Regions from separate parts of the Homo sapiens genome. Here region 2 is linked to region 1. Evidence: promoter capture Hi-C in 16 types of primary human blood cells and fetal thymus (Javierre and others, 2016). All regions are on one chromosome and are shown on one strand. Each heading gives the region's core, a stretch centred on a gene start or on the middle of the fragment in contact. The rest is flanking DNA. Distances are from core to core; before and after follow the strand shown.

What was found. The method cuts DNA at HindIII sites, captures the fragments that hold promoters and counts their contacts. A CHiCAGO score of 5 or more calls a contact.
Region 2: a fragment that was not itself captured here is called in contact with the fragment with the promoter of LPIN2 in region 1 in 1 of 17 cell types (total B cells); the score reaches 6.0 in total B cells.

What each region holds. Positions count from the first base shown.
Region 1 is chr18:3,011,201-3,016,097 of GRCh38, reverse strand. LPIN2 (lipin 2) reads left to right here and starts at 2,954. Exons shown (of 20, transcript NM_001375808.2): 1 at 2,954-3,011. RefSeq lists a silencer at 2,564-3,513. The HindIII fragment of the contact is 8,581 bases long and covers 467-4,897 here.
Region 2 is chr18:5,296,947-5,301,843 of GRCh38, reverse strand. It overlaps a transcript of ZBTB14 not described here. Among named protein-coding and RNA genes, the nearest start is that of ZBTB14, 3.7 kb to the right of the region's middle. RefSeq lists an enhancer at 4,787-4,897. The HindIII fragment of the contact is 239 bases long and covers 2,382-2,620 here.

The DNA of each region.
Region 1 (4,897 bases), core at 1,705-4,204:
TGAGACTCCCTCCTAGGTTTCTGGCAAGTATGTCTAAACAGATGACAGCGCCATCAGCCAGGATAGGAGATTCAGGTGGAGCAGGTTTGAAGAAGCACAAATAATGGGTTTGAATCTGACATCACTGTGGACCTTGCTGGTTGAGACGTTGAAAGCCACTGAGCACAGGCATGTAGAATTCAGAGGAGTTCCCACTAATGAGGGGAGGAGAGAGTTTCAAGAAGGAAATAATGATCAACAGCATCTTGCCCTGCAGAGATCATGAGGCATGGGACAGGAAAGGGGTCTGTTTTCTTCGGCAACCAGAAGGTCATAGTGACTTTAGCCTGAGCAGTTTCAGGGTTAGAGGAGGAGCAACCCTGTGAAGATGGGAGAAAACCTGAAACTCTTTCAGGTAGCTTGGGTGGGAAGAGAAGCTGTGTGATAAGTCGACAGCCTGAGGGGGAACGGAGGGGCCACAAAAGCTTCTTTTTCAAGTGCAGGAATGAAGCCAGAATTGAGGAAGAGGGGACAATTAGTGGAGTGAGGTTCCTCACCTTGGAGCTGGAAGGTGGTGGGTCAGAGGCCAGTTGAAGGAAGCGCTTTCTTCCTCTGACACTCCAGTGGAGTAGGTGGACCTGGGGTGGCCCCTCCACACTTCCTAGGGCAGGAGGTGAAGGGATTTATCATGCAACAAACATTTAATGAGTCACCACTTAAGTGGTAGTGTAAGCTGGTGGACACGGGAAAATGAGGAAAATATTAGCAATATGAACCAATCGTTCTGAGTGAGGTCTCAAACGCAAGGTTGTTTGGAGGAAGGGAGGGGAGCTCTAGGGCTTCCTGAATGATGAAAGGAAGGAAGGGAGCTTGGCAGAATATTTCCCTCCCAAGGCAGAGATAGAGAAAATAGCCTGAGAGAAACAGGAAAAGTCTAAGTGGGAGAAATGGAAGAAAGGAAAGAAAATAAACGCTAACAGCCTGTTCCAGGTTGCAGACACTAACGTAGGCACTTTATAGGTTATCACGGGGAATCCACAAAACAATTCTGTAAGAAAGACACTACTATCTTTATTTTACTGACGTAGAAACTGAGGATTAAATTCTTTCTCTAGCTTTAATTTTTCTTCTCCATATTTATAAAATCCATTGAATACGGAGGGGGATATTTTAGTCCTCTTCAATTTTTATTTTACTTGTGAAGCCAAGTGAGAAGCAGTGAAATGAGGAAAATTCCTAGTGGTCTTGTGCCAGTGAAACTACCTATGTTTCTGTAGGGCCTTGATTACAGATGGGGCAAAACTTGATCGAGTTTCACAGAAAAGCAGAAGGAACTTCAGTGAAGAAGTGGTCGCCTGCTCCCTGAATCCAAGCACTGCCCAGCTACACCAGGCACTGGTGGGAAGAAACTGGGCTGCAGCTGGATCCTTCAAGGAGCAGCTTTGTGTATGCAAATGCCTATTTCAGTACCCTTAGAACTGTATAAATGATCACACACAAGATGCACCTCATAAATTAACTGCCATTTATATAGAAGTAACATAGGCTTCTGTTCATTACTTTCAATCATAGAATAGTAATAGAATAGGCTGCAAATTAAAAACCAGTGTGCACCAATAGTATATAGCACCAGCAATCCAGTTTTTTTTGTTTTTTTTTTTTTTGAGACAGAGTTTCGCTCCCAGGCTGGAGTGAAGTGGCGCAATCTCTGCTCACTGCAACCTCCGCCCCCCGGGTTCAAGTGATTCTACCGCCTCTGCCTCCTAAGTAGCTGGGATTGCAGCCAACATGCCCGGCTAATTTTTGTATTTTTAGTAGAGGCGGGGTTTTGCCACGTTGGCCAGGCTAGTCTCCAACTCCTGACCTCAGGCGATCGACCCGCCTTGGCCTCCCAAAGTGCTGGGATTACCGGCGTGAGCCACCGCGCCGGGCCCCATTTCTTTTCTTTCTGAGACGGAGTCTCTCTGTCGCCAGGCTGGAGTGCAATAGCGCCATCTCGGCTCACTGCAATCTCCGCCTCCCGGGTTCAACTGATTCTCCTGCCTCAGCCTCCTGAGAAGCTGGGATTACAGGCACGCGCCACCACGCCCGGCTGGTTTTTTGTATTTTTAGTAGAGACGGGGGTTTCACCATGTTGGCCAGGCTGGTCTTGAACTCCTGACCTCAAGTGATCCGCCTGCCTCGGCCTTCCAAAGTGCTAGGATTACAGGCGTGAGCCACCCATTTCTTAAAAAGTATATTTTAATGCTGGGGACGGTGGCTCATGCCTGTAATTCCAGTACTTTGGGAGGCCGAGGTGCGGGGATGCTTGAGCCCAGGAGTTGGAGACCAGCCGGGGTAACAGAGCGATAAAAAGAATAAACAAAAAACAACAGAACCCCGGCATATTTTTAAAAATGAGTTGTGTAATAGGATTTTTTTTTTTTCGGTGGAGATGTAAGTAAGCAAAGGAGATGTGCTACTAGTGATCAAAAGGGGATTATAAAACATTCATTCCCTAGACTTTTTTTGCACTTTAACATTCCTTTTTGGCAATTGGGCTCTCAGTCCCACGTGACCTGCCGCAGGGTTGCCATGGGGACCGGAAGAAACTTTTTTTTTTTAAAACAAAGTAAGGCTCCTGTCGCCCGAGGCACTAGAAAATCGAGGCCCCGCCCTCACTTGGCCAGGGGCCCGGGCGCGCAGCCCAGGGACTGGGAGCGGTGAGAAGCCGCACGCCTGGCGCTCGGCGGCGGGGGCGCGGCGCGCGGCCGGGAGCGCGCGTCACGTGGCTGGGGCGGGGCCTGCGCGCTGCCCGCCCGCCAGCTGCCGGCTCGGCCGCCGCAGCCGCGGCGTCCCATTCATGAGGGCCGCCCGACTCAGCTGCGGCCCAGGCGGCTTCCAAGGCAGCGGCGGCTGCGGGCGCTCCGACCCCGCGCGCGCCCCCGACCGGCCCCGCCCCCTCGGCTTCCCTCCCCGGCGGGTCCTAGCCGTCGCAGTCCAGCCGCCGCCTGCCCTCAGCCGCCCGCTGGCCGGGAGCGGAGCCCCTGTGGGTAAGTGGGCGCGGGCCGGGCTCCTCGCAGGCGTCCCTCCGGGGCTGGCGGTGAGTGTCTGCGCCTGGGGGCTTCCCTTGGCGCGGGCCCGGGGCTGTCCTGCCGGAGGCCGGGACCCTCCGGGGCGGCGCGGGTTGAGCCGCCCCTCCTCGCGCCGCGGTCCCCGCTTCCCGGTCCTCGCGTCCCAGTCCCCGCCTCGCCGCGACCGCGCCACGTAGACGCGGCCCCTACCGCCGCCGCCGCAGGACGGACCGGCGGGGTGCGCGGGGAGCCGGGGGCGTCGGGGCGTCAGTGGTGGCTGCTGAGGACTCTGAACCCGCGCAGTTCCCTCGCCGCCGCCCTGGGGATGGTTACCCGAGACCACCCCTACCCCTGGGTTTGGGGCGCGGAGGGGAGTGCGGAAGGCGCGCGGGAGGCCGCGTCTCCATCCCGCCCCCGGCCCTGCGGGAGGGGGCGCCGGGCACGTGATCTGCGGCGAGGCGGGGGCCGCCGAGTTGCTGGTGTTTCTTCCCCGCCGCGCTTTGCCCCGTACCTCCGCCTTCAAGCTGTGTGGACCGGATTCAAATGTGGTTAGTTTTCTCAAAGCCCCCCAGCCCCCGGTGCAGATCTTAATTTGTGAGGAACACGTTCAGATACAGTTTGTACTGAGAGCCTCTCTGTCCACTTCTAACGCCAGCGGATCACCATTTTCTCCACTCGCCTGAACATTTTAAGACTCTTTTCATTGAAAATTCAAGATGACATTTTTTAGGCATAATTATGCAAACCAGTACCAGAAAGATCACCCTTCCTTTCCGAAAAGTACTGGAACTCTGAATACTTGGAAATGCTTTGAAGGACTACTTAGTAAATGGCCAAACTAATTTTTAATGCACATTTGGGGCTTACCCATTTTTTTTTTAATTGAAAACGAGGCTCTAGACTTGGTGTCAAGGTAGGTCCTGTTGAATGAAGTTCTTTACCCAGTAGTGATGATGGGTGTTACTGTTTATTAAAACTTGGCCTGGCTAGATTATAATGTTTTGACAATACAAAGTCGGTTTTGAAATACATTTTGAAATATTTACGAATTATTTAGTGGCCCATACTGGTTTATGTTTTAACGGTCTGGTGTTGATCGTTCTTAGTGGCTTCAGATTGAGAAGAAGTGGCAGGTGATGCTGAAGCGGGGGAGAAGCGGCAGAGCCGGCCACACAGTGCAGGGGATGGAGACAGGTGCTGGGCTGGTCCTCCTGCAGCATCCTCAGTTGTTGGAGGGCAGTCATCCTCAGGCCGTACCCAGCCAGAGAAGAAAAAGAACAGTGTGAAGCCACGTGTGATAGCCGTCCAACATCGGCTCTTCCCTCCAATTACATTGTAGTTGATTGTGGTATGTCAGACTGAAGTATCTCTTTTATTTCGAGACAGAGTCTCACTCTGTCGCCCAGGCTGGAGTGTAGTTGCGCGATCTCCGATCACTGCAATCTCTGCCTCCTCTGTTAAAGCGATTCTTGTGCCCCAGCCTCCCGAGTAGCTGGGATTACAGGCATGAGCCACCACACTCAGCTAATTTTTGTATTTTTATTAGAGACCGGGGGTTTCACCATGTTGGCCAGGCTGGTCTCGAACTGCCGACCTCAGGTGATCCGCCCCCCTCGGCCTCCCAAAGAGCTGGGATTACAGGCGTGAGCAACCGCCCCAGCCAGACTTAAGGTATCTCCATGCCCAACTTTTGATAGAGGTAGCCATAGAAAGCTAGAAATGAAACGACAGGTTCTGTTTTAACGTTTGATGGCACAGTCGAGAGTCAATAGGCACGCATTATGCTTAAGAGAAGCTGGAAATGAAGTGTTTGAAAACCCTTTAATACTATAGTAAAGCACTGTTAAGAAGCAAATAATAGAGTC
Region 2 (4,897 bases), core at 1,252-3,751, 2.3 Mb before region 1:
AGCTACAGCAAGGAAGAGAGGAAGTCTTTCCCTTGATGTACTAAACTTAAAATGATGCAAACACTCTGATACAGGTGTTTTACCAGAAGACAAATCACAGAATATGAAAAAAGAGCAGTGTTGGTTTTGAAGAATATGAAACAGGTTTACAAATAAAAAACAAAGGGCAGATCCATGAGTAATTTTGCAGCAGGAAAAAATTGATATACATTACAATACACATTATTGAAACAATTGGTAAAATTTAAATATAAACACATTAGATAATAGTATCGTATCGATGTTAAATACTTAATTTTGACTATTGTATTATAGTCATGTAAGAGTGTCCTATTCTAGGAAATACACACTGAGGTATTTAGGTGAAAGAAGGATATTTGTACCTTACTCTTAAACGATGGCTCAGTGTGTGAGAGTGTGTGTGCCTGTGTGTGTGTGTGTCTGGAGACAGTGTGCACGTGTGAGCACAAATGATTAAGCAAATGAAGGCAAAATGTTACAACTGGTAAATCTGGATAAAAGTAAAATGCACACAGGACTTCTTTTTTACTATATTCATGCAAATTTTCTGTAAGTTAGCATTATACCAAAATAAGAAGTTACCAAAAAAAGATAACTCAAAAATATTCCCATGTAATTGGAAACAATATCATAAAATCATACATTACATTGGAATATTTTGGGTTAGTAGCATTATTAAATAACATGAATTTAAAAAGTAATGAAGAAACCAAAGAAATACATAGAACTGAATATAAATAAAATAACATGAAAAAAATACGTTGAAAAGGAGAAAGCAGTCCTTAGAAGGAAATTTACAGCTCTTTAAAATCAACATGTCAGGAAACAAGAAAGCTTATCACCAAGCCAGCAGGGAATTTACCATTTTTTTTCCTTCTCGTTCTTCTGCCACTTGGCTGTAGATTAGAGTGTAGCCATGGAAGTGCCCCAACTTTCTGGATGTAGGATCAGAAAAGGGAGTTCCAGGAAGGTAGAAAGTACCAGGGAAATCAGAAGAGGAATGAGCCCAGGAAAGTGAGCCCCTAAAGTTGTTTATGAACCTCTAAGCTCCCCCTTGAGCTGCACATGCTGGGTCTGAGCCTAGTCAGCACATAAAAGACTTTGAGAATTGAACTAACAGATCATCAGATCCTAGACTGGCCAATGCCTGGAGCATATGAAACAGATCCAAGTAGCAGTCCGAAACCATCAAACCACAGCACACAGAAAGTGTGTTAAAACTGGTCACCAGAACGTAACCCGATTGTCTATTAAAATTAAAATATCAACATTTGCCACAGGATTTAAACAAGACCCAGGGTATTATAACATAATATTTAAAATGTTCAAGATGCAATCCAAAATAATTCAGCATACAAAGACCCAGGAAATCTCAACTCACGTATGAAAAAACAATCAACAGATGGCAACATTGAGATGACAATGATGTTGGAATTAAGTAAAAAGACTTAGAGGCAACTATTATAAATTCTCCAACAAGCAATTATGAACACTCTTAAATCGAAAAATAGGAAGTCTTAGCAAAGAAATAGAAGATATAAAGAAAAATACAATGAAAAAATTTAAAACTGAAAAATACAAGTGAAACAAAAAAACTCACTGGACAGGCTAAATGGCAGGGTGGAAACGACAAAAGAACAAGTCAGTGAATTGTAGAGAATCAATAGAGACTATTTCATCTGAACAACACAGAGAAAATATTTTAAAAAATGAAAAGACTTATGGTCCTATGACATAATTTTTAAAAAACTCAACGTTCCTGTCATTGGAATCTCAACAAAGGAGAAATAGTATGCTGTTGAAAAAAAATGTGAAAAAAATAATAGCTGAAAGCTTCCCAAATTTAGAGAAAGATATAAATAAACCTATGTATTTAAGAAGCTCGGCAATCCCCAAACAGTATAAGCAATGAAATCCCTACTCAGAAAACACCATAATCAAAATGCTGAAAACTAAAGACAAAGAAAAAAATCTTGAAAGTATCTAGGAAAAAATAATTACATGAACAGGAATAATTTTCGTTTTACAATAATATTGGATTTATGGAAGAGTTGTCAAGATAACACAGAGTGTTTCCAGAAACTCTTCACCCAGTTTCCTCGATGTTAACCCAAAAGGCAATGAGGAAATCTAAATGACCAGGTTCCAGAGGAAGAAGAAACAAGTGTCTGGTGCCCAGAGACGACCAGATGCCCCACCAGTTCTGATCCATAGGAGAATGATCGTTCCACATGGCCAACTCCATCCTCATGCAGCAATTCCTCCACAAGCACAAGACAAGCTTGTCCTGATGTTCCTTGCCCTGGCAGATGTTCAGGACCTTCCTTTGATTCAACCCCTCCACCTAAATGGCCCAAGCTTTCGGGGCTGTCATTGTGAAGACCCCTTCCTATAAACCACAAGGCCCTACAGGTGCTGGACACTGTTGTTCTCACAAACACATCTCATGTCCACTTTTGCAGAGACTGAGGTACTTCAAGCTCCTTCCACCCTTGCATTCACTTTGTTCCTGTCTCTGTCTTGAAATGCTATTTCTTCCCCCTCTTTGCGAATCTCTCCCTCATCTTTCAGGTCTTAAATGTATGCCTTTGAAGAAGCTTTCACTGATTTCCCAGGCAAAATTAATTCCTCCTGTTCCTCTTTTTCATCACATTCTGTGTTTTTTAACTTTCTATAAAAACACTTATTGCAATGTGCAATTGTGTAACGATGTGATTATTTGTTGAATGTGCACATCAGTATCTCCATGATGACACGGATTGGATCGGGTTTTTGTTCATTTGCTGTATCAAGTGTTCTCAGAGTCACAGGGGGAAGGTGGTTATGGCATTGGGTGTGACACTTTTCCTTGCACAGATGTATTAGATTTTGTTCAGTAACAAAGCATAAAACCCAACCTCCCAGTGGCTTATAAAACAAACATTTACTTCTCAGTCATAGGTCTGTGGGTGAGTTGTCTTCTCTCTAGGCTTGGCTGTGCTCAGGTTTTGGGTTGGCTTCATTCTCAGGTCTGTTTGTCATTCAAGGGCCCAAGCTGAAGAGGGGGTTGTGGCCTAACCATGGTCGTGTTGTGCTGGACGTCACAGCAGAGGAGGAGGCGCAGAACAAAGGCTGCTCTCAAAACCTCTACTCAGACCCGGCCCACTCTCATCTGCTGGTATCCTGCTGTTTCAAAACCAGCCAGAGGGCCCAAGGTCAACATGAGGGAGAAATCAACCTCCCCCGCCTGTGAGACATAATGTTTCCAAACGGTCCCTTACTGGGCTGCTCTGTAACCACATCAGACCCTGGCACCCGGGACTGCACACTGCGGGCCCCATGGCCTGGGCCTCACAATTCTTAGAAACAGGTTCCACTCAGGAGGCCATGGGTGTCCCAAGTGAGGAACAACGTGCTCCAAATGTCACCCATCAGAGTTGTCGGAAAAGGAGGAAAACTTTGTCAAGGACCTTGGGTCAGTGCATTTCAGGAAAGCCCTGCCCCCGCGTTGACGCCACAGTGTACTTTTACAAAGCCCCTTAGTATCAAATTCAAGGTTGTCACTTACTGTCCGCTGATGTTTATTGAAAGCCTCTTGGGTGCTGGGAAGTGCACTTTTGGGTGGCGACACAGGCGAGAAGCCAGGCTTGGGTCAGGCCTTTCCTTTGTGGTTTCCCATCCCTCCACCTTCCCACAGAGTTGTCCCTTTAATTTAGACTCATCCCCACAACCCCTGTGAACCAGCAAGGGACAGCCAGGCAGAGCCCAGGTGACATGAACATAAAACAAATGAGACAAGAGGATTCATTGATACAAAACCAGGATGTCAGGAACCGTCACTTGAGAAATGCATTCTAGTGCTTTAGAACTCTTGTGAATTATGTTATCGGGTTAGTGGAAACGTGGGAAGTCTTTTCCTAGCCATATGCGAAAAGATTGTCTTTACACAGTAGGCAGACCAAAAATACACGCAGAATGAGTGGGAAACCCCATATGTGGTATGGGAGAAGGGGGAGCGCCAGCAGCAGATGCGCCATGACTTGAGTACTGGCCGTGTCCACACATTGTGCTAACTGCAGTGGCTGCTTTACTGCTTGGTGACGCAACCCTATGACAGAGTACTATTATTATCCCCCTATAAACACACAGCATCCACAGGATTGAAATGCAACTTCAAGAGCTACGCAAACAAGAATAAAGCGAGTACACGGTATCATGTCTGATGAGTGTGAACTTTCGTGGCAGAAGACTTGGTTCTGGTTCTGTCCAGGCCACTGGAACCCACTATCTGTGGGTGCAGGTGATTTTCCATCATGGAGCTAATACCTTAGCTGGGCATTATTTCACTTAATCCTTACAAGTGCCTTATTAGGTGCTTTCCATAGCTCTCCTTCAGCTGAGGTTTAGAGAAGTTAAACAATTTACCCAATATGTGAACTGGATATGTCTGACTCTACAACCGGTCTCTTCCATCCTATTTCCTCCATATAAGCCGTAACTTGGGTGCTTTTGTGAACATCAAAAAAGATGCGTATAAAGTCGCCTTGGGGAACGTTAAACCAAAGTCAATTAACATTACAAAATCAACTGAGGCCATATAGAACTTCCTTTAGAAAATTAACACATCCAATCATCATATTATTTCCCAAATGTTTACTTAGGTGCCTGTTGCAAGCACTATCTTATGTCATCTTCAATAAGCCCAAGAGGAAGCTTCTGCTCTAATCTTTAGATATTAAATTACGCGTTTCGGGGAAACTTCGCGTGTGAGGTAAAGCAACATGAGCGACTCTAAGGCGGCGCGGCATTGCTGTCCGGCCTCCTGCATCTCGGTGAGCAGAAAACGCGGGAGCGGGAGGGACTTCCCAGCTCCCGACGCCAGACACAGGCACAGCCG